Linked DNA regions of Homo sapiens: regions 1, 2, 4, 5, 6 and 7 are each linked to region 3. The links are contacts of gene promoters, found by promoter capture Hi-C in blood cells and fetal thymus (Javierre and others, 2016). All regions are on one chromosome and are shown on one strand. The core of a region is centred on a gene start or on the middle of the fragment in contact, and the rest is flanking DNA. Distances in the headings are between cores, read along the strand shown. Region 1 overlaps SASH3 (SAM and SH3 domain containing 3). Region 2 has its middle 5.6 kb from the start of SASH3. Region 3 holds the start of ELF4 (E74 like ETS transcription factor 4). Region 4 has its middle 9.4 kb from the start of APLN. Region 5 has its middle 33 kb from the start of APLN. Region 6 has its middle 39 kb from the start of APLN. Region 7 has its middle 19 kb from the start of APLN.

Region 1 (3,163 bases), core at 399-2,898, 320 kb before region 3:
AATAACAGAGCCAGGATTCAAGCCCACTGCCTGGCTCCAGCTTAGTGCTAAAGAAGTGTGAGCTCCTGGACTGCAGAGCTGGCCTGGAAACAACTCCTACCAGCTTCTAAGCTGGAAGCAGTGAGGAGAGGGGCAGGGCGGTGGCAGGTGCCCAGAAGGAGAGACTGCCTATGGTGTATTTCCCAAGGTCCCTACCTCCACCCCCATATTCTGTCTCCCTCTCTCGTCCCTGGCAGCTGGCAGTGAGGAGGCTGAAGAGGGCGCCGAGAGCAGCCAGGAGCCAGTGGCACACACAGTGTCGGAACCCAAGGTGGACATCCCGCGCGACTCAGGCTGCTTTGAGGGCTCGGAGAGCGGGCGCGATGACGCAGAGCTGGCAGGCACTGAGGAGCAGCTGCAAGGCCTCTCCCTGGCCGGGGCACCTTGAGGTGGCGGTGGCAATAGGCCAAGGCTGGGACCCAGCTGCAAAGGCTGTAGGAGTGGGCCCAGCCTCCCGTGGTGGCCCAGGTCCTGAGGACTGGCACTGAGCCTGGCCCTGCTTCCCCAGGGACACTTAGGGCCACAGAGGCCAGGCCAGGGCCCTACAGGTTCCAGGCTCAGCTGGAGTGGTTGGGGAGTCGCCCAAGGGCACATCCCACCTGCCTGAGCCCCGCCCTCCACCAGCGACTGACAGCGCAGCCCCTCCTGGCACCAACTGCTCCCCTGCCATGGCCACGGCCACAGCAAGTGGGGCACTGGGAAACCCTGCCCATGTCCCTCACCAACAAGGCCTCCAAATCCTCCTCACCCCCACACCACCTACCCCTGTCGCACTGCTCCTGAAAAGGGGGCCAAGTCAATGTTTCAGGTCAGTCTAAAAACCCTAGGGAAGCTGGCCATTTAAAAGAACCCAAACTGACCATGGGTAAATCCAGTTCCCCTAAATAAGGCCTGAAGAAATCCACAGGTACCATTCCCACTTTCCTTCTCCCTAGCTTTCTTAGAGGTTTGGCCACTAAATCTTATGAGACTTGAACCAAGTGGCTTCCTCTTTCTAGGCTTAGGACGGGTTGGGGTTAGAAAGGGTGATCACTGAAGGCCTTGCCTGCTCTGACATTCTGTGACATTAAATGTCTATTCTCCTGTTACCTGTGGCCTGGGACACCAGTGGGGTTTATCGAGGGGACCAGAGGGGCCTCAGGCTTTCAGATGAAATGGCTCCTCCTACTCACCCACTTTATTCCTCTCCATGTAATTCAGGACAAGCTGCAACTTCCCCCAGCTTAACACAATGCCCATACCTCATACGATATGCGCCCTCCCGTTCCATCCCTGGCCCCCTCAAACGAGACTTCTCACAAGGCTGATTACAGATGGTCAAACCTGGCTTCCAAGGACAGAATTGCCTCTCGGAAGCCAGCTGTGGATCTGAGTCCAGAGTTGGCCACTTGTGTGGGTCCTCACAAGCAAAGAGAGCACTAAACTTGACATTGGGGGTCCACCACTCCAACTTTGCTTTCTGAAGGTTTTGGTGTACATTGAGCCCCAGAAGGAAAGGAGAGTATCTGTGAGTGGGGGCCTCCCTTGACCCCAGTACGAAGTCTATGCCCTGAATCCCCAGAGTAGCCCTTCCTGGTGCCCAACTGGCCTGGGGACAAACAGCGTCCACTACATCTAGGACTGCCGGCTAAGTGGACACACTTCTTGACCTCCTACCAGGAACTTTGGTAAAAGCTAGCTTTGGGGAAGGGGTTGGGTGTAAATATGAGAGGGTGGAGGGAGACCAGCTGGTAGCAATAAACATGGGTAGAACTAAATTACCGTCTCCAGTTATCTTTTCTATGGAGAGAGTGTTGTGGGGAGGGGCAGACCGGTCTCCTTCAAAGCTGGCCTCAGCAAAGTGTCCCTCACTGTCCTTTCAGGTCCATCTTTCCCTTCCCTTAAATGTTCAGTGCCCTTGACTCTGCTGACCTAAAGCTCCAGTCTGAAGCCCTAGCTGGCTCTGCCCTCCCCTCTAACCAGCCCTCCTCAGAACAAGGCTCAAGCTCCCATGACCACGGGCTTTGCTGGGGTCCAAGAGGTGTAGGGGGGAATGGCTATTTCCCTCATCCAATAACTGTTCATTTTAACAGGGCCCTTAAAGACCTTCACCCGTGTGAAGAAAGGCCTGCACTGAGGAGCTGTCCAGGATCTAAGAGGGGGAGATTTGGGGTCAGCATGGCCTTTCCTCTGAAGTCACCTTTTCCTGGCCCCCACCCTGTACCCACTAAAGCAGTGCCATCTCCTGGGAGGTAGGATGGAGATGAAGACCTCTAGCTTCCTTTCTGTTTCTGCCAGAATTAACTGCATTGGGCATTGGGAAGGGGGTTACTGGAGAGAGAGCTGCCACCAGAGTGAGGACGAGGCCACTTGACTTCCAGGCCTTGTTCTCAGTTGCATTCATCCCACCACCCTTAGTGACTGGGGGTGCCAGGAAACTGCAAGCATGATCCTCACCAAAGATATAAGAGCCCTAACAGCCTCAAAGCCCCAAGGGTACTGAATAATTGCAGTCATTTAAGGAGCACCTCCACTTGTGCCAGGCACTGAGCACTTTACATATAGCATCTCCTGTAATCCTCACAGTGTCCCCCTGAGGTGGGTGCCCTCATCATCCCAGTTTACAGAGGAGGAAACTGAGGGTTGGGGAGGTTGAAGAAGTTGACTAGAAAGTAACAGAGCAGGAGTCTTCCTGACTGCAGAACCCATGTTCTTAACTCCTATGCTACAATGCTTCTCCAAAGGCCTCATCCAACAAGCATTCAAAAGTCCTGGGCACTTTGGAGGGCAAGCTGACTCTCTGACCCAGCCATTTCCCTTCTAGAATTTAATCAGCCACATAAGTGCAGAAACAGCCACATAAGTGCACAAATACCTATGGACAAAGATATCTACAACAGCTCTGTCTGTAATAGTAAAAAATTGAAAACAATGCAAATGGGGAATTAAATGCTTTATGGTTTGTTCATATACCACGCAGCCATGACACATGATGTTGTAGAAAAATATTTAATAACATGAGGAAAATCTTTGTGTTTTTTTATTCTTTGATTCTATTTATTTTTCTAGAGACAGGGTTTCGCTCTGTTGCCCAGGCTGGAGTGATGTGGCACAATCATAGCTCACTGCAGCCTCGAATTCCCAG
Region 2 (3,425 bases), core at 675-3,174, 340 kb before region 3:
CTATGTTGCCTAGGCTGGTCTCAAATTTCTGGCCTCAAGCAATCCTCCTGCCTTGGCCTCCCAAAGTGCTGGGATTACAGGTGTGAGACAATAGTTCATTTTTTAAAATGATAACTAACTCAGCCTTTGCTGGTTTGCCAGTCAGCTGGTTCCAGCTGTGTGTGAGTTGGGACCTCAGAAGGGGCTGGGCTGGCTACTCTTCAGCCAGCTAAACCACGTCAGCAGTGAATTTTACCAACTCACTGGGTGCTTCCTCAAATCAGTGGTTGGGCACTCTTGGCACCAAAAAATATATATATATAGAAGTGCGAAAGATTCAGTAGCAACCGTTTCCTCCCTGTCCGTCCCTGCTCCTCATGGCTCGTCACAGCCAGGAGGGGGAGGTGCTCCCCAAACCCCAAGCCAGCTAGCCTTTGCCCAGAGGCCGGCCCATCTCTTCACTTCCTTGTTTCTTTGTGAAACAGGAACTGAGCAAGCAGCTTAAGTCGGGTAGGATGGGTGGTTGAGAAAGCCCCAGTGGTCCGTGGCAAGTCCACGAAGCTGAAAAGCTGGTTTCTCTCCCAGCGGGTCCCAGGCAGCTTCAGGCCCTCTTGTTTGTCACACCTCTTGTGTTCTAGAACAACTTGGGGTGAGGGATGCACTCTTGACAAGGTGGAGACATAGGATATGGGCCACAGGGTCACGTAGCAGAGATTCAGATGCGGACCTCAAGAGACATAGAAGCAGGTGCCAGGCCGGGCATGGTGGCTCACGCCTATAATCCCAGCTCTTTAGGAGGCCAAGGTGGGTGGATCACCTGAGGTCAGGGGTTCGAGACCAGCCTGGTTTGGCAACATGGTCGGCAACATGGTGAAACCCTGTCTCTACTAAAAATACAAAAAATTAGCTGGGTGTGGTGGCAGGCGCCTGTAATCCCAGCTACTCGGGAGGCTGAGACAGGAGAATCTGGGAGGCGAAGGCTGCAGTGAGCCGAGATCTTGCCACTGCACTCCAGCCTGGGCCACAGAGTGAGACTCTGTCTCAAAAAAAAAAAAAAGAAGAAGAAGAAGATTCCAAGGGGACACTAAGGGAGAAAGCGGCAGCTCCTAACGGTCACCAAGGCCTTCCTGGATTTAGCAAGGGGAGAAACTCCAGGTGGAGTCTGAAGTGAACTGATGTGGAGTCACTCACCAGGTACCCAGCACTTTCCACTAGCTGGGGCACTGGGCTGAGAGCACTCCCTCTATGCATGTCACCTGAGTAGTAACCCTAGTCACACACACCCACAAGAAAGGCCCACATTATCACTGTTACCATCTTCACTAAGGCTCATTGCAGGTGAGGTCACTTGCCCAAGGTTATGCAGCCAGTAGGTGACCATACAACAATCTGAATCCAATCAGGACAACCTGACTCCATTTCTGAGAGGTGTTCTGTTCCTCCTCTTCCCTGGAGCCCTGGACAATTGTCCCCATGGGGGAGGGGCCCACTGATCAGAGAGGTTTGTCCTTGTAACCTTGGGACAGAGATTTATGCAGAGTAGCCCAGCCCCTACTTGTCCCCCATAGAAAGTGCACCCCCCCACCAGTGAGTCATGAGTGTGTTTTAATCTGAGCACCAAAGTCCAGCCTCCTCTTCTGATGGTAATTGACAGAGCTACCAGCAGGTGTTTTTTGTTTTGTTTTGTTTTAAAACCAAGACCTTATCACGAGTTCAGAGTTCCAAAGATCACTGTCTTTCCCTCCCCTCCCATCAGCCCCTGCCACCAGATGCCCACTCTGTGTGTGTTGTATGTGGGCATGAGGAATGGGCGCAAGAGTCACCTGCCCTTGTCTCCTTGCTTTCCTCTGCCCGCCTTCTCCCTCCTGCAATTTTGCTCTTTCTGCCCTCCCTGCCTAAAATGACCACCATTAAATTTGCTAATGGGCCGGGCTACTAAAGTGGGCTTCACCTTGGAAATGTCCAGGTATTTTCAAGAAACTATGTGGCCTCTGCTTGGATATTTCTTTTTCTTTTCTTTTTTTCTTTCTTTTTTTTTTTTTGGTTGTTTTGTTTTGTTTTGTTTTGTTTTGTTTGAGACAGAGTTTCACTCTTGTTGCCCAGCCTGGAGTGCAGTGGCGTGATCTTGGCTCACAGCAACCTCCACCTCTCAGGTTCAAGCGATTCTCCTGCCTCAGCCTCCCAAGTAGCTGGGATTACAGGCATGTGCCACCATGCCCGCCTAATTTTTGTATTTTTAGTAGAGACGGGTTTCACCATGTTAGTCAGGCGGGTCTCAAACTCCTGACCTCTGGTGATCCACTCACCTGGGCTTCCCAAAGTGCTGAGATTACAGGTGTCAGCCACCGTGCCCGGCCTACTTGAATATTTCAAGAGATGGGGAGATCATTACTTACCAGAGCTGAACTAGTGCCATCTGAATAGCCAAAATTTGTTCCTTGGAATATACTAAAACCTTCCATTTATCTGTTCCCCATCATTCATACCACTTGCTTCCCCACCCCAATCACCTAGGCTAAATGTGACAGGAGTTTAGTACTTCACACGTTGACGACTTCCCTATACTTCACCCCCGCTTAATCGACCCTAGCTATTGCAGCTTTGCAGATGTGATGCGACTTCCAGATGTCCTCCCCATCCTGTTCACTCCCCTCTGGGCCTGCTTCAAGGTGGCTCTGTGGCACCTAGTGTGGCACCCAAACCAGCATCAGGTGCCAAGAGAAGGCTGCAAGCCGAGGGCTCCATAATTCTCTCACCTCCCCGTTCAGGAACTCCGCATCAGAGGCACTTCAGCTGAGTGGTTAGTTGTGTGGGCCCTGGCCAAGACCAGACCTGCATTTAACGCTGGGCTCCACTGCTTACTAGCTGTGTGGGCAATTCACTTAACTCCTCTGGGCCTCAGCTTCCTCCCTGGAAAATGGGGATAACAATAGTGCCTGACTTACCAGGTTGTTGTAAAGCCCACTGCCTGCCATGAAGTATAATAATTTTCAGCTAGATGTGGGGACTGGGGGGAATGGAAATAAGAATCTTTGGGGGCCGGGTGCAGTGGCTTACACCTGTAATTGCAGCACTTTGGGAGGTAGAGGCAGGAGGATCACTTGAGGCCAGGAGTTCAAGATCAGCCTGGACAACATAGGCAAAAAAAAAAAAAAAAAATTAGCCAGGAATGGTGGCACGTGCCTGTAGTCCCAACTACCCGGGAGGCTGAGGTGGGAGGATCATGAGCCCCAGGAGTTTGAAGCTGCAGCGAGCTGTGACCACACCACTGCATTCCAGCCTGGGCAACAGAGGGAGACCCTGTCTCAAATTAATTAATTAATTAATTAATTAATTAATTAAAACTTAAAGAATCTTTTGGGAGGTTTTTCCAGATATAAGTATCTCTCACTATCCAAACTCTTACTATCTCAAATTAGAAATATATCCATTCAGAGAGTGAGAGA
Region 3 (3,135 bases), core at 561-3,060:
GAGCAACCACCGAGCAAACAGTGCAGCACAGGGAGGAATGCCAGACATAGTTGCAAACAAGCCACTCCTTCGGCTCACAGCAAGAGGCTGGGTGAGGGTGGTAGCATGGAGCCTGCTTCATGGTCCCCCCCACCCCTGCCCCCAACAAGAGATCCCAGGCTCTGAATCCAGCCCCAAAAACAACCAGATGCAAGGTAGCCTCTTCCTCACACCAGCTGGCTGGGATAGGAAGTCCTCCCTGATAATCTTCACTGAACTCCAGAGAGCTCCCCCTACGCTGCTCCTGTACTGGATGCACTGAATCTGAATTAATGGTTGAGAAAGCACTTTATAACCAGGAAAACCCAGTGTAACTAACTGCAAGGAAGGACTGGCATTCTTGCTGGGCATATGTGTTCCCCGGGCATTTTCAGTGCCAAAGTCTCCCCAAAGGGAAGAGCTAGAACTGTTCCCTTCACCCACCTCCAACCTGGCACTCGGGCCAGGGGTCAGCTGGCAGGGGGTGAGTCCCCAATGGGCGTGCCCACCAGCTGTTGGGGCTGAGCAGTGGTGGTTCAGGCCCTGGGGTGGTGACCTCACTTCCGCTCCTACCTCCCCACCTCCCCAGCACTCCTCCCATTTGAGGCCCCACCAGGCCAAAATCGAGAAGTCCAAGGTTAACTGTTCTTTCCCACTTTAAGAGCTAATTAAAATAATTAGCCACAATGAACTGTCAAACATTAACCAGAAGAGGCTGCAGGACCAGACAGGCCTCTATCACAGGCCGAGGGATGAGGGGCAGGAATCAAATGGCCATCAAATCCCTCAGCTGGGGTATGGTGCGGGGCGGGGGCGGCCCAGGAGGACCTCGCTGAGCCGAGGTGCCAAGGGGTCAGGAGGTGACTCTGGTCAGGAAGGTGATGTGCAGGCATACGGTGGTGAGAAAAGGGAGTCAGGGTTAGGGTGCGGTGGAGGAGCCAGGAATTCATAAAGCGGTCACCGCCTCAGCAGTCCCTCAAGCCTCCAAAGCAAGGCGCTGGCGTGAGGGGACCCCGCACGGTGCGGCTGCTGAATCCCCTAGGCGGCGGCCCAGGAGGGAACCCGGAGGCGGGAGAGTCGGGGAGAGCGGGAACGCGGGAGCGGGAAGGCTGGCGGCTGGCTCACACGGAAACTCCGGCCCCTGCCAAGAGGTCTCTATTTTGGCGATCCAGTTCTCCACATCATAGGTCTGCGTGCGCGTGTGTGCGTGTGACCCTAAAGCCCTGGCCCCAGAAGCCCCGGGGGCAGTCGGATCCATCTAGCAGCTCCGCCGCGGTCCGCCCCACCTCCTCTGCCCTCGGGCGCCCAGCTTCTGGGGGCCCGCTGTCATGATCGGCCCCGTCACGGAACCCAGGCTGCCGGGGGCGAGGGAAAACAGGGGCCCCTACCCCGACTCCCCGACTCGGGGAATCCATTCCACTTCCATCCCGGGATCGGGAGCCCGGGTTCTCCATCACACGCGCGGCGGGGCGACTCCAGGGCGGCTCGCGACACTCCGCGACTCTCCCGCCCTTCCCTGGGCCCCCAGCCCCACGCCGGGGCCCCGGCGCTCTCGATTCCGCCCTCAAGCAAACTTTTCCACGTCCCCCAAGGCTCGAAGAACCGGCGCCATCGACGTACCTGAGGCCGAGTGGCTCACGGGCCCAGCTCGGTCGCCGGGCCGGGGTCTGTCTCCGTGGTCCCCGCTCCGGGGGCCGAGACGCGGGTCCCCAGCCCCGCCAGCCCGTCCTCTCCCCTCGGAAGCCGGGCCGGGCGAGCGGCGCCAGGAACTCGGCGCCGGCGAAAGGAGAAGTGGAAGTTGAGCGCGGCGCCCGGTCGGTCCCCGCGGCCGCCGGGGCCGCCGTCCCCCGCCCTCCTCCCCGCCCGCCCTTCTTCCCCGCCCGCCTGCCCCCGCCACCCCGCGCCCGTGACTCACCTCGGCGCCGGGGCAGGCTGGTCCGGGCGGGCGAGGCGCAGGGCTCTCCCACACTTCGCGCCGCCAATGGCAAGTTGGAGGGAGAGATGCAAATACCAGGTGAGACGGCGGCGCCCCTGATAAAACGGGGCGGGGGGCGGGGTGGAGCGCGCGGGGAGCGGGGCGGACGCCGGGGAGGGCCGGGCCAAGACACGGGGCGGCAGGGGCGCCCGGGGAGGGGGCGCGAACCGGCGCAGACATGCACCGAAACGAGCGAGCGAAAGGGGAAATGCAGTAGAGACACACACGTCCCCGCAGGCGGCGGATGGGGCGGGCGCGAAGGAGGCAGGGCGGGAGGGAGGGAAGAGCCGGAGGGAGGGACCGACGGGAGGGACTGCGGGCGGGCGGGGTGGGGGAGGGAACGAGGGAGGGACGAGGCATCTCGGTGGAAACAGCGCCCGTCCGCCCCGGCCCGCCCGCCGCGGTCGCCAGCACGGCATGGGGAGCCGTGCCAGGGGCCCGCGCGGCCTCTCATTCCCCTCGCGGCTCGCTCGCGCCCGGGGGACCACGAGGCAGGGCGCCCGCAGAGCCCGCGTCGTGCGCCGCGGCCCGGGCGGGCGCTCCCCACTCTGCTTCTAGCCAGCGAGACTCCGAGCTCTCTGCTCGTTCCGCGCCCTTCCCGGTGCGAAGCCCCCATACAACGCCCCGCAGAGAAATCCCTTCCCCGCGGACTCGGGAAGGTTTCGTCCAGCCCCCTCGGCCCGTGCAAGTGGAGACTTGCTTGACGCCTTTGGGCCAAGCCCTGCGCTCCACATTATTGAGCTCCTGGGGTGTGCAGGCCCCAGCGGGAGGGCGGGCCGTGCGGCGGGTGAGGCCGCGAGATGCCCAGAGGATACAATTTTGGAACCATATGCCCGACTCCGCAGAATCCTGGGCGTAACACCTGGGGTGACTGGAGAGTTTCGGCGACTTCTTAGGGAAGTCGAGTCTAGGACTCCTGCGGGAAGTTGGGGTGGGGGACGCTGGCAAGATATGAGTCAGGGGAAGGGCTAGGGGGAGAGGGGCTGGCCCAGCAAGTGCAAAGAGAGCCAGAGTTCGGGTGCTGGAAGAAAGCCCATGCCTACCTTTCTTCCCCTGTCCAAAGCCAGGCTGCTCTGCTCCACGCGCCCACTTGAAAGCCACTCAGGCACGCTCCCCTTCTATCTCCCCTTTGCCCTCTCTGA
Region 4 (3,316 bases), core at 20-2,519, 450 kb before region 3:
ACTAACCATCACACGGTATCAGGTTTGCAAAAATTAGAGAAGTAGCCATTTTGCAGCATAACCACATTATCTCTATTCACATCTCAAGTGTTTAATACTATATTCAAGTCACTACATGCTAATTCCTTCCATGGGACACCTTTCAGCCACTGCCACATGGGCTCCAACTGCCCTGGAAATGCTTATTCCATTTCTCTGTTTCTTCCAACTTCTTTGCAAACTACATACCTTCTCAGATCGTCTGATATATTCAAGGAACACCAGGGGTTCCCACAGATACGCCTTCCTTGACACAACACCCAAGTTCCTGAAAAATGTTGTCAGTGGAATTCAGATAATCAGCTATATTTCAAATGTCTTTGAAGGGTTCACAGTTTATTAGCTGAATAAGTCCTAAGAGAGATTCTCTGAGGTGAAGAACTGTTCCTCTGTTCCTGCCCCCAGCCCAGCCCAGCTCCACAGAATTACCCCCTTTTCCCTACATCCTGCTTCATTCCTTCTGATCCTCTCCCATAGCCACACAGGTCCCCATTCCTCCTGTTTGTCTTTCAGAGCAGTTTCATTTCCTCTGCATATCCTCTATGACGTCTCCCAGGAGCCTCCATCCTTCCTCTCCCCTACGGTCTATAAATACCCTGGTCTCCCAGGGGAGGCATGTGAATTCCTTCCTTACGCAGCAAGGCCCTGTGAGTTAGGATAGCCACTCCCAAAGGAGCAGGTTTATCTCCAAAGTCCATTGAACCTTTCTTCCTCTTGCTTTGCTGGTTAATATTATCTGGGCTTATATCATGTAAGATATTATATGTCTCAAATCTGGCACCTTTGTTTGCAGAGCCAGGGCAAAGACTGTTGAGGACACGGTATTGAGTCTATGACCAGTTCCGTTATGGGCTTAGAGTTCTGGGATAATAAGGTCAAAGTCAGAGAGATAATGAGGTCAGCTTTGTTCTATCCCAAACTCAAGTTTGGATTGACACCAGTCACTACCTGAATCCTAACCATGGCCACAGACTGAGATCTTTTGAGGTTCTTACTTTTTGACTTTCATACATTTCCCATACACATAAAGAGAGAGTCAAATATTGTACTAAAATTTAAAAGGTAACACTTCTGGAGAAAAAAGAAAGAAAACTAGCCATCTTACAGCAAAACTCCATGTGTTAATTTCTCAGGGCTGCTATGACAGATTACCACAAACTTCGTGGCTTAAAACAACAGTTTATTTCTTCTCACTTCTGGAAGCCAGAAATCTGAAATCAAGAAAGCTCTAGGGTGAGAAGTTTATGATAAATTAGTGAAGTGATAGATGTGTAAATTAGTTTGATTGAATCTTTCTACAATGTATGCATAGATCAAAACCTCACATTGTACCCTATAAACATGCACAATTATCATTTGTCAATTAAAAATAAATAAAGATAAAATGAAAGTGTAAGGGAGGATTCTTCCTTGCCTCTTTCATCCCCTGGTGGCTCCAGGCATTCTTTGACTTAGGGCTGCATCCCTCCAATCTCTGCCTCCATCTTCATCTTCACATGACCTGACCCTTTTGTCTATGTGATATCCTTCTGCCTCTCTAGGGTCTCACTCTGTTGCCCAGGCTGGAGTGCAGTGGTGTGATCATAGCTCACCATAACCTAGAACTCCTGGCCTCAAGCAATCCCCCTGGCTCAGCCTCTTCAGTAGCTGTAGCTACAAGCACCACCACAACCAGCTGATTTTTTATTTTTTATTTTTTTTGTAAAGACGGGTCTTGCCGTGTTACCCAGGCTGTTCTCAAACTCCTGGCCTCAAGTGATCCTCCCACTTTGACCTCCCAAAGTGCTTGGATTATAGGCGTGGCTGCCTCACTCTTATAAAGATTGTCAGCAATGGATTTAGGGCCCACTTGGATAATCCAGTATGTCTCTCTTGAGATCCTTAAACTTCTTACACCTGCAAAGACCATTTTTAAATGAGGTGTCAAATTTACAGGTTCCAGGGGTTAGGACATAGACATATCTTTTCGGGGGCTACTGTTCAACCCATTACACCCCACTACCTCCATTTACATTTCTGGCATGCTGGAATCAACACAGCATGAACTTTCTGCCAATTTAACCTCCAAATATCTGTCAAATCTACACGTCTCTATGTTTCTGCTGCCCTATTCTTGTTCCAGCCCTGTCATTCCTCACACATCATTCTCCATAGCAACCAGAATGGTTATGCCAGTTGGCTTGAAAACCTTCTGTGGCTCATGGCTCTTAGGACAAGACCAAACTCTTAACCATGGCATGCAAGGCCCTGCATAATCTAGCCCCTACCCACTTCGCCAGCCTCTTCTCTTGCCTCTTATCCTCTTTCTATCTGCAATGCCATGTCCCTCCTGTCACAGTGCCTTCCCAATACTTTTTCCTCCTACTGAATGATTCTCTGCTCTACCCTGTCTTCTCCTGGCTAATGCCTATCATCAATCAGCTCATCTCTAATGTCAAATCACTCCTCCTCAAGAGATGTTTTCCTTGGCCCTCAGACTGGCTGAAATTCCCCTGTAATCGCTTCTCATAGTTCACAATTCAGTTTGTGTTCAGTTAATGTCTGGCTCACCCCATCCACCCCTCACTGTCCAACTAGACTGAACTCCATAAGGGCAGGGGCCATGGCTGTCTGGTTTCATGACTGTGTCCTCAGCATCTAGCCAGTGTCTAACTCATAGTAGGTGTTCAATCATTTTCCCAATCAATGCATATATGAATGAATGAATGAATAGGTCTGAACATCTGTGCTTTGCTCCCTCAAGTTCTTCTAAAAAATGAGAAAACAATGTTTCACTCCCAGGGTTGAATAAGAATCAAAACAAGAGAATGAAAGGGAAGGAGCTTTATAAACCATGAAACGCCTTACTAATTTGAGGAATCATTACAATACTGGCCAATGTAACCATTCTTCTGGGGGAGTGGGAAGTGCACTGTGCACGACTTAGGGGTAGCAGGAGGAACAAGGGTGGAGGTGGGGAAGGATACTTGAGTTCTACATTCCTCTGGATAAGAAGAATTTCTGTGGCTCTGCTATGTAGGATAAAATTACAAGAACATTCAATTCCCCTGCTTCAGGCTTGAAGCTTATAACTGATCACCCTCTGGGATCAAGAAGAAAATGCCATTCTGCTCAGGTGTAAATATTGCCCGGAGTCACCTCGGGTATTTAGGATTTTGACTGTCTTCCTTTAAAGCATCTGACCCAGGTGCAGGCTGAGGATAGGGTGACAGCCTCCTGGGCTGGATCCCTCTTGGCTGGTGCTTCCCATGAGGTGATCCATCAGCCGTGGCACTTG
Region 5 (3,220 bases), core at 554-3,053, 420 kb before region 3:
AAAGGGAATCCAGATCCCCAAGCTGCCTGAAGTTATCTAGAAGCAGAGAGAAATAACCAACTGAGACAGTCCCAGAGGGCCCCCCAAGCTTCTTTTCCATTTAAATGCTCTCTTTGTTACTAAGAAGCAAACCTAGCCCATCCCCACTGGCACCAGCCTGCCCATTGTTTCCCTAAGAGACCATCCCAAGCCAAGTGCTGGGGCTACCTCTCCCTTAAAGGAATGGCAGCCTGGAGGTTGCACTGCAGTAAGAGCATCATATAACCAAAATTCTCCACAACTAATGGTTCTAGAACAGGACCCAGGTCAGGTGTCATGGGCAGACCCATAAAGGGCCCAATCACTAGAGCATTTGACCTGCCTCTTCCCCCCAGGCTTGGCTACCTGTGGTGATTAATGCTCTGAGGCCTCTGACATCTGAGCAATGGACACAAGGCTAGAGCCTAATCCCACCTACATTTGATCAAAATGGTAGGCCTTGTGGGTTTGTTCCGGAGGTGAGAAAGCATTAAATATTCCACTGGAAAGACACAATGGAGAGATTGCGTAAGTAGACGGTTCTTTGGGCAGAAGAAGATGGATGGATCTGAAGTGGGAAGTGCCAGAAGAACCCTTTCTCTAACCAGGAGGGGCCTCTGGTATCCTTGCAGCTTTTAGCTCTCAGTGTGATCAGTAGACTGTCTGCTTGACTTACCCAAACTCCCACTTCCCCTCCTGTCAGGTATTTGCTTGGGGGCTATTCATCTCCTCTGTGTTCACCTTCCATTCAGCTGAAAAAGAGGAAGAGGATTTCCCAGCTCTGTCTTCATCCATGCATTTTTTTTTTTTGAGACAGAGTCTTGCTTTGTTGCCCCGGCTGGAGTGCAGTAGCACGATCTCGGCTCACTGCAACCTCCACCTCCCAGGTTCAAGAGATTCTCCTCCATTTCACCATGTTGGCCTCAGGTGGTCCTCCCGCCTTGGCCTGCCAAAGTGGTGGGATTACAGGTGTGAGCCACCGTGCCCAGCCCTTATTGGAGTTTTTTTTGTTTGGTTTTTGTTTTTGTTTTTTGTTTTTTGTTTTGTTTTGTTTGAGACGGAGTCTCGCTCTGTCACCCGGGCTGGAGTGCAGTGGTGCCATCTCAGCTCACTGCAAGCTCCGCCTCCCGGGTTCACGCCATTCTTCTGCCTCAGCCTCTCGAGTAGCTGGGACTACAGGTGCCCACCACTGCGCCCGGCTAGTTTTTTGTATTTTTAGTAGAGACGGGGTTTCACTGTGGTCTCGATCTCCTGACCTCGTGATCTGCCCGCCTCAGCCTCCCAAAGTGCTGGGATTACAGGCATGCCTTATTGGAGTTTTATGAGCATATTCTGTGATGTTGAATGTCTAGTCTATAAATGATTGCCTAGAGAAGACAGGGGGCTTAAGGAACCTTTGAACGCCCCCACTGGTTTTGGAGAGGTGGTGAGACTTTTGGACTCAAATAATGGCTACTGTGATGTTAACTGTGTTTATTGATTTACAGAAGCTACGAATGGTGCAGTGTACAAATCACCCCGAACCTTGGTGGCTTAAGACATCAGCAATCATGTTATTACCTCTCATGGTTTCTGTGGGTAAGGAACTCAGGAAGGGCTCAGGTGGTAGTCCTGGCTCCAGGTCCCTCATCAGGTTGTAATCAGGGAGTGACTGGAGCTAAAACAGTATGGGGTGAGGAGAATGGGGCTGGAGCAGCTGGGGACAGGCCAGACACCTCTCACTTCATGTGGTCTCGGAGATCTTCACATGATCTCTCCATGTGAGTCGGTTTGGGCTTCCTCACAGCATGGTAGCAGTCAAACCAATCACAGGGTGGCTCATGGCTTCAAGTGTGATTATTCCAGCAAGCAAAGTGGAAGCTGTATCCTCTTCTACGACCTCGCCTTGGAAGTCATCTAGCTTCACTTCTGCCATAGTCACAAAGCTGCCCAGCTTCAGGGAGAAGGAACATAGACCCTACATCTCAATGGGGGAGTGTCAAAGTCATACTGTAATACGCTCATGCGGAACAGACGATACTGTCACAGCAATTGTGGGAAAATACTCCCTACTACACCAATCCTACTTCCTGCTCTTCCCTCAGCTGAACCTCAGACAAGCCTTTTGCTTTCTTGCTTGCAGCTGTCAGCTGGTCCCTCACTCTGGGTGCCCTTCTCTCCTCTCCAGTGCCTTCAGGCCCCAATTGGAGTCCCACCTCTTAAAGTTTCCCTAACGGCTTCCATAAGCACAACAAGCAGCAGTTTTCCCTTATTCATAGCAAGCAGACACTTACATGTTTGATAGGCCAAAGAGTTGCTCCACATTTGGTCAGGGCCAATCTGACCAGTGGGTAGGTTTCCACATCTGGGCCCTAATACCTGGCCAGGTGGAACATCTAGATTCTGAAACATCCTCCTCATTCTTCCAGGGTCTCAGAACCTCAGGGTGACATAGCTTCTGGCCATAAATGCTAGGACAGAGCTATGTTCATTGTGCAATGTCTCTTCCAAGGTAGGCACATGGGCAGATGAGGCTCTGTGCAGAAGGCCTTGGCAGTCAGATGAGAGGTGGCAGTAAAATGTGTTGGCAAGAGCCTTTGGCTGGGAATCAGGAAGCCAGGGTCCCCGAACCAGCTTTCTGGCTAATTTGATGCATTCATGATCTGAGACAAACCTCCCAATCTCCAGTTGACCTCAGTTTCCCTACCTCTGCAGTATAAAACCTAGAGCTTGTCCTTCCTACCTGTGTGGTGAGCAGACAAGAAGAGAGACAGGGCTGGGCATGGTGACTCACGCCTGTAATCCCAGCACTTTGGGAGGCCAAGGTGGGTGGATTACCTGAGGTCAGGAGTTCAAGACCAGCCTAGCCAACATGGCGAAACCCTTCCCTACAAAAAAAATACAAAAATTAGCTGGGCGCGGTGGCAGATGCCTGTAATCCCAGCTACTTGGGAGGCTGAGGCAGGAGAATCACTGGAACCCGGGAAGCAGAGATTGCAGTGAGCCGAGATTGCACCATTGCACTCCAGTCTATGAGACAGAGCAGGACTCCGTCTAAAAAAAGAAAAAAGAAGAGAGACAGGAAGAACTTCTCAAGAGTAGAACATGCTAATAATTCTTGTACTGTATTTGTTTCTTCTCTCAGCCGCCACTTCCTCTCTAGCATGTAGGCTCCAAGGTAGTGGGTGAGTCCGTAGGCGCATGATTATGGAACAGGGATGGG
Region 6 (3,255 bases), core at 433-2,932, 490 kb before region 3:
TGCTCACAAATCATCGAAATCAGTGAATTCATTCCAGCAAATTCTTCTTGAGCTCCAACTATGTGGAAGCTACAATTCTTGGTACTGGGATTACAGCAGTGATCAAAACAGCCTAAAGCCCCCTGCTTTCATGGTACATATGATATAATAGAGCGAGACAGAAAATAAAGAAAATGAATAAGTAAAAATTGTCATTTGATGATAAATGCTATTAGAGAAACATAAAGCATAGAAGGGGAATAGGGAGAGTGGGGGTTGGGTGCAACTTTAAATAGGGTGACCAGGGCAGGACTCACTGAGGAAGTAACTCATGAGCAAAGCTCTGAAGGGAGTGAGGGCATTTCCAGTAGTCCAGCTTGAGGCCCTAGTATATGTGAGACCTGAGGCATTGGCCTGGCTTGCCCTAGATGTTCCTCTTCTTTTTGAGCCTGCTTGTGTTTGTCGGCTATTGGGTGAGGCTTGGCACAAGCAGTTGGGCCCAAGGGCACCCACTCATCCCTCCTGGGCTTGGAAAGCTGCTGTGCTGAAATGACCCCACCCCCATGCCCCTCCTGGGGACAGGGGACAGTCAAAGAGCCACTAGAGGCTCCCAAAACTCTCAAAGGGGCAAACCCTCTCCCCAGAACCTTATCAGTTTCCTGGTGCAGGCACTGCTGAGGACCTCAGCTGTTGTCTGTCCTTCTGGGTTTCTATGTTTAGTGTGAAGGCAGCCCTGGCACAGGCCTTCCTTCCCCTTCCAATCCGCAACAGCCTGTGCTCTGCATTGCAGCGTCACTTCCCTGCTGGAGGTTGCAATGTTTGCACCAAAAAGATGGCTTTCAAAGCCCAAGGTGTGTGTGCGGGGGGAGGGGTATGTGCACACACACAATGGAAGGGGGGCTGTATCTCAGACCCTCACATTTCATGGATTCATATGTCTTTTGCTCTGAGCATAAGGCTATTGAAGTCACAGTCATGGATTCCTGTTCTTTCGTTTATTCAACATTACAGCATGGGGTTACCAGCCTGACTACTAGCATCACATTGACTTGACCTTGAATATTAGCCCAACCATCTGCTTGCCATACGACCTTAGACAAGCTACCTGTAACCTCTCTGAGTGTTATTCTCATCTGTAAAATGGGACTCAAATGCAGTACCTTCCTTGTAAGGTTGTCAAGATTAAATGAGATCATCTTTGAAAGGCATTCAGCACCATGCCTGGCACACAGTAGGTGTCTCATAAATGACAGCTGCTATTACTATTAATTAGCCAGGGCTTACTGCACACCCATTGTGTGCCAGGCACAGTGCTAGGTGCTGGCAGAGTTAGCAAGAGGAACTCAAAGATGAGTGAGACAAGGCCCAGCTTGGCTCCATTCCTCACCCACATGTGGCTGCCCCAAGGCAGTCACCTCATCCAAGGGACCTTGCAGCTGAGTGTGCAAGCACCTGGGCCCTGGCGTGGGACCCAGTGGGGTTCAGGCCAGGGAGTGTCACCAGATGGGTGCAACACCCATACCCTTACCCTCACAAATGCCCCCCGCCCCACGCTGCCAGAATGTCACCTGAGTGCTGAGTGCCGGGCCTGCCCCACAGGGCATTGGGACGGAGGGCTCAGCACCAAGGCAAGGAGCTGCTCTGTGGGCTGGTCTGGACACAGTGGAGATCTGGGTCAGCGTTTTTCTGAGTGAATTCTTTTTTTTTTTTTTTTGAGTCGGAGTCTCCCCCTGTTACCCAGGCTGGAGTGCAGTGGTGCCATCTTGGCTCACTGAAGCCTCTGCCTCCTGGGTTCAAGCTATTCTCCTGCCTCAGCCTTCCGTGTTCAAGCGATTCTCCTGCCTCAGCCTCCCGAGTAGCTGGGATTACAGGCATGTGCCACCACGCCCGGTTAATTTTTGTATTTTTAGTAGAGACAGGGTTTCGCCATGTTGGCCAGGCTGGTCTTGAACTCCTGACCTCAGGTGATCTGCTGGCCTCGGCCTCCCAAAGTGCTGGGATTACAGGCATGAGCCACGGTGCCCAGCCTTGGGTCAGTGTTCTTCTGTTTACCCTCTTCAGTGTCTCAGCGGTTGGCAAGGCATCATCACTCTCTACCTTTTCTTGGGAAGTGGATTCCCCTCCCTGTCAGAGACTCTTCCTATTATTTTGGGGCCCCTTTCTCTTTCACACTCATTCACACACTCCCCAATCTATGTCCTCAGTCACTACTAGCCTTAGTGGTCAGTGGATCCCCATGGCGAAGGGGAAGCTCATTGGATCATAGCAATATAGCTCACTCGCCCACAGGGCGTGGCCCACTGGAAGAAGAGGAGAGGACAGGACAGGACTTGGCCTCTGCCTTGCCTGATGGATTGTGTTATCTCATGCAGGAGGGAGTGGGGAAACCCATGTGGCATTCGATACACAGCCCAGTGCTAAACTATGCAGTCTGAGCTCTATGCTGTCTAAGAAGAGGGCAAGGGCAGTGAGGGCCATAGCAAGGAAGGGAGACTTGAGCTGAATCTCAAAGGAGAAGAAGGATTGGGATGGGGTGGCAGACTCCAACCTGGGTCCAGGGGGATGTGCTCAGCTGTCTGATGGCTGGAAGCAGAGACCCATGTGCCATGAGGAGTGAAGATGTCCATTAGGCCCAGGTGAGAGGTGGAGCATGCGAAGTGGGGGTCAGGGCTGGGGGCAGAAGAAAGGCATAGAGGAACCATTGGCCAGAAGGTTGCAGAGGCCATAGGGGTAGCCTTTTTCCTCCAACTCCCATTCTATTCTCTTTTTAGCCTTTATTTTCCGCACCATTCCCCTCCTCTACTCTCTTTCCCTTTTTTGGGGTCTCTTTGTCACCCTCCTCCCTTTTTTCTGAGTCTCAGTTATTTTATCTGCAAGATAAATGTGCTCATCCTGGAAGCTGGTGATGTTGCCTCTCCTGCTTTTCATTCCAATTCTGAGATCTCATTCAGCAAGAACTGCTGTCTTAGGGCTGCTCTCCCAGGACTGGGCCCTGTTGGCTCCTGTGGATATACATCCACCAGCAGAAAAGCCTGAGGGTCCAGGCCTTGGGATCTGTGCCACTGCTTGCTGGGGGTTGCGGGACAAGCCTGTTTTGCTTCTCACTCAGGCTGAAGACAGGTGAGGATGCCAAGTCCAGAAATTGCTTTGCTTCCAGCATCAAATGGCTTCCTCTCAGCAGCACAGTCCCTTTAAGATGGCGGGGGGCGGGGAAGCTAGAAGAAGACCTTTGATGTTGTTCAACTGAGAAATCCATCAGGTGGGAACAAGCCCGGA
Region 7 (3,077 bases), core at 257-2,756, 470 kb before region 3:
CCTGGCCACCTCTTTCCTTTAGGAGGGTACGACAGTTCCCAGTGGCCCAACCTCCCAGGGCGTTCTCCCAGAGTGTGGAGGGCGGGGGCCTAATCTGCATTTGGGACAAAGCCTACCCGGTGCTCGAGTGTTGTTGTCATGGAAACTCAAAAGGTGTTATTAGCATCTTTTCAACTCAGTGGCCCTGTGTGGTCCAGTCCATGCAATCTTAGCAGTAGCACACCATCACCCTGGCAACCCATTAGCCTAGTGTTGTTACCATGGAAACTCCAGTAAGGTCGATCAGTCCGGGAAGTTCCCAGAGGAGATAGGCACTGGGAGATCTGCCCAGCAGTGCCTACTCTGAGGGTCTCCCAGCTGACAGTGACCTGCTCTGCATACACTGACAGTAGTTTAGGATCTTTTCCGGAGCGAGCTAACAGTCCATGTGACAGGAAAGAATTTGGCCCTGCAGACTGGCAGGTCTATGCCTCGTTACCATGGAAATGCTGCTTGTCAGGATCTCAAAGCACAGTGCAAAACTAACTCTTCCAGGAGACTGAGGCTGGCAGGAAAGGAGGCTGTGAGCCTGTTCTTCATTCACATGCCCATTCATTCATTCATTCGTTCATTCAGTATTTAGTGCACGCTCATTAATACAGTGGGCACTGCGTATGTCCGAGGCTCTAACTGGAGCAAACAGGTGGGCTCACCAACTCTCTTCAATTGAAAAGTATATTGAGGTGGAGGGGACCATCTTACTTCCTGTGTCAACCTCCACTGGAGGAAAAGGAGTTGACATGCCCAAAGGAATGGAATCGGGGGGTCTCTGTGTGTCGAGGGGTACAGGGAGAATACTTGCTTTCTGTAGCCTCCTGTTTTTCACCTATCCCCTGCTTAAGCCTTCAGGAAACAGATCTTTGTGTGGTCTGGATCACCAAAGGCTTGGCCAGACATGCTAGAAGTTTCCAGCAGCCACAGCTAAGTGAAGTTAGAACAGGCTACGTTGGGAAGCAATGAGCTCCCCATCACTGGAGATGTACAAGCAGAGGCAAAAAATCCTGCTCAGTGAGGGCCATGTAGAGCCCGCAGAGCACAATGATTCAGAGCTCAGATTCTGGAGCCAGATAGCCAGTCTTCAAATCTTGGCTCAGTTTACCAGCTGTGTGACTTTGGGCAATTCACTTAATCATACTGAGCCTTGATTTCCTCATTTGTAAATGGGAATGATAAGAGTTTCTTCCTCATGGGCTTGTTGTGGGGATGAAATGCGTATAATATATAAAGCACTTAGAACAGTACCTAACATATAATTGCTCAAGAAATGGTAGCTTGTATTATCCCTTGATGGCCCAACTAAAGTCCCTGACAAGCTTGGGATTCTATATGACTATGGGTCACTAATCTTCCTGCACACGGAAAATCAGAAAGGGACTCTGGCAAGGGTAAGATTCTGTGCTGACCAGAGAGCTGGCTGAGGGTAGCACCTCTGAGCTTTGAGCTCATCACCACTTGCGTGCTTCCAGCAATAGTTTTCCTTTCCAAGTACTTTTGGATCCATGTCTCAATTGGGCCTAAAGACAACAGCAAAGGGCACAGTTACCATCCCCTGTGATAGATAATGGGAAGTAAAGCTAAGAGCGGGAGAGTGGCTCACCTACCAAGTGGCACAACTGGGATGGAAGCTTTCTCTCTGTCACACCACCTCACAGTCCCCAGGGCCGCCATAAGGGGAGGACAGCAGTTGGGAAGGAGCAAGTCATGGGCTGGGCGGAGGAGGAGCCCAGCATGACAATAACCTATGAAAATCAGCTTTCCACTGTCTGCACTTCTGCAAGGAGGAGTTGAGGCCAAAGCCAGGGAGCAGAAGGGGGTATTTCCTAGAAATGCGGCGGGAGTGGCTGGTGTGCTCCACCCATGGGCAAAGGACAAGGCTCGGCCTGCGTGTGAGCACTCACTTGGAGCTGAACTTGGAGCCTCCAGAGCTCCCATCCCTCTGAGCTCACTCAGAAAGCTTTCCCTTTGGGCAAAGTCCAAGGGGGTCATTCAACTGTGATCTGACACTTCTGCTTTCAACTTAATAGCTCAAGTATTTAACGGATGGCTCATGGCCTCACCAAGGGATTTTGCTTGCCGAGACTAGCAAGGTGGGCTAGTGTTTTCATGCCATTTGGAGGAGCAATGAGAAAGGATTGTTTAAAAAAAAAAAAAACTTTGCCTGAGAACAAGAGTAACGCCCTAACTCATGGCCTCATGAAGCTCCAGGTTAAAATGCACACGTTACCTGGGAGTATGGGAATTGGACAGGGGCAATAGTGAAAAATCTTTAATAGCCAGCAAGGTCTGGACACCAACTGATTAGAATGTTTGCTGGCCAGAAACACGCTATAGGGATGCACCAGCCCAGATAGAGGAAAACAGCAGCCCTGGATGTGGGCCTTGGCAGGGGCCGGGTGAAGGGAGGGTTTGCTCCCTGAGAGGTCCCATGAGCACACGCAGGAATCAGATCTGCCTATGGCCACCAGAAGGTATGAGATTTCCCACAGCAGCTGGTGGTGGGGGGGTGGGCAGGGTTGGTGTATCTGGTAGGGGGAAAACTGGTGGGAACATGGGGTTCACTGAGGGAAGAGCTCCTTGGGACAGCTCGAGGGCCAGACAGCCTAGGACAGTCCTGTAAGGATGCAAATGGGGCCTGGCCTGGCCTTGGAGACCCAGATGCTGCCCTCTGCCCTCACAGACTTCACCCCTGGTGCCTCTGGGTGGCAACTTCTCTCCCTCTCTCAGTGAACATGCATACGGACTATAATATGCTACACAGCGTGGAGCAAATATGCATACCCATTCGGTGTTCACACAAGCACATGCATGGAGCCCACGTATGCCCATGACCTGTAGAGGCATCCTCTCAAGTCAGTGGGGCACACCCACAAAATTGTTCAGACTCAGAATCTTGGAGCAGAAGCAATTTTAGAGCTGCCCCCATTAAAAAAGTCGTCTTTGATGAACGCCAGTCAGCCACTCCTCTACACACACTTTGGCGTTTGCTCGTTCTCACACCTCCTGCAGAACAGGAAAGAGGAGATGACCTCGGGAACTTT

Evidence for each region. The method cuts DNA at HindIII sites, captures the fragments that hold promoters and counts their contacts. A CHiCAGO score of 5 or more calls a contact.
Region 1: a fragment that was not itself captured here is called in contact with the fragment with the promoter of ELF4 in region 3 in 2 of 17 cell types (activated CD4 T cells and neutrophils); the score reaches 5.6 in activated CD4 T cells.
Region 2: a fragment that was not itself captured here is called in contact with the fragment with the promoter of ELF4 in region 3 in 8 of 17 cell types (total CD8 T cells, non-activated CD4 T cells, monocytes and 5 more); the score reaches 8.7 in total CD8 T cells.
Region 4: a fragment that was not itself captured here is called in contact with the fragment with the promoter of ELF4 in region 3 in 2 of 17 cell types (total CD4 T cells and naive CD4 T cells); the score reaches 6.9 in total CD4 T cells.
Region 5: a contact is called between a fragment that was not itself captured here and the fragment with the promoter of ELF4 in region 3, in 2 of 17 cell types (activated CD4 T cells and total CD4 T cells). The highest score is 6.7, in activated CD4 T cells.
Region 6: a fragment that was not itself captured here is called in contact with the fragment with the promoter of ELF4 in region 3 in 11 of 17 cell types (neutrophils, total CD4 T cells, activated CD4 T cells and 8 more); the score reaches 12.2 in neutrophils.
Region 7: a contact is called between a fragment that was not itself captured here and the fragment with the promoter of ELF4 in region 3, in 7 of 17 cell types (neutrophils, naive CD4 T cells, activated CD4 T cells and 4 more). The highest score is 8.9, in neutrophils.

The regions. Positions count from the first base shown.
Region 1 is chrX:129,793,406-129,796,568 of GRCh38, forward strand. It overlaps SASH3 (SAM and SH3 domain containing 3), which reads left to right. Exons shown (of 8, transcript NM_018990.4): 8 at 237-1,796. The coding sequence ends at 427. Among named protein-coding and RNA genes, the nearest start is that of SASH3, 15 kb to the left of the region's middle. The HindIII fragment of the contact is 5,726 bases long and covers 1-3,163 here.
Region 2 is chrX:129,772,645-129,776,069 of GRCh38, forward strand. No RefSeq gene overlaps it. Among named protein-coding and RNA genes, the nearest start is that of SASH3, 5.6 kb to the right of the region's middle. RefSeq lists enhancers at 504-803, 2,797-2,846. The HindIII fragment of the contact is 4,423 bases long and covers 1-3,425 here.
Region 3 is chrX:130,108,687-130,111,821 of GRCh38, forward strand. It overlaps ELF4 (E74 like ETS transcription factor 4), which reads right to left and starts at 1,811. Exons shown (of 9, transcript NM_001421.4): 1 at 1,639-1,811. It also overlaps a transcript of RAB33A not described here. RefSeq lists silencers at 1,693-1,762, 1,843-1,992, 2,243-2,292, 2,303-2,352, 2,423-2,542. The HindIII fragment of the contact is 7,600 bases long and covers 1-3,135 here.
Region 4 is chrX:129,662,735-129,666,050 of GRCh38, forward strand. No RefSeq gene overlaps it. Among named protein-coding and RNA genes, the nearest start is that of APLN, 9.4 kb to the left of the region's middle. The HindIII fragment of the contact is 3,664 bases long and covers 1-3,101 here.
Region 5 is chrX:129,686,783-129,690,002 of GRCh38, forward strand. No RefSeq gene overlaps it. Among named protein-coding and RNA genes, the nearest start is that of APLN, 33 kb to the left of the region's middle. The HindIII fragment of the contact is 3,434 bases long and covers 87-3,220 here.
Region 6 is chrX:129,614,349-129,617,603 of GRCh38, forward strand. No RefSeq gene overlaps it. Among named protein-coding and RNA genes, the nearest start is that of APLN, 39 kb to the right of the region's middle. The HindIII fragment of the contact is 7,528 bases long and covers 1-3,255 here.
Region 7 is chrX:129,634,545-129,637,621 of GRCh38, forward strand. No RefSeq gene overlaps it. Among named protein-coding and RNA genes, the nearest start is that of APLN, 19 kb to the right of the region's middle. RefSeq lists a silencer at 3,058-3,077. The HindIII fragment of the contact is 312 bases long and covers 1,351-1,662 here.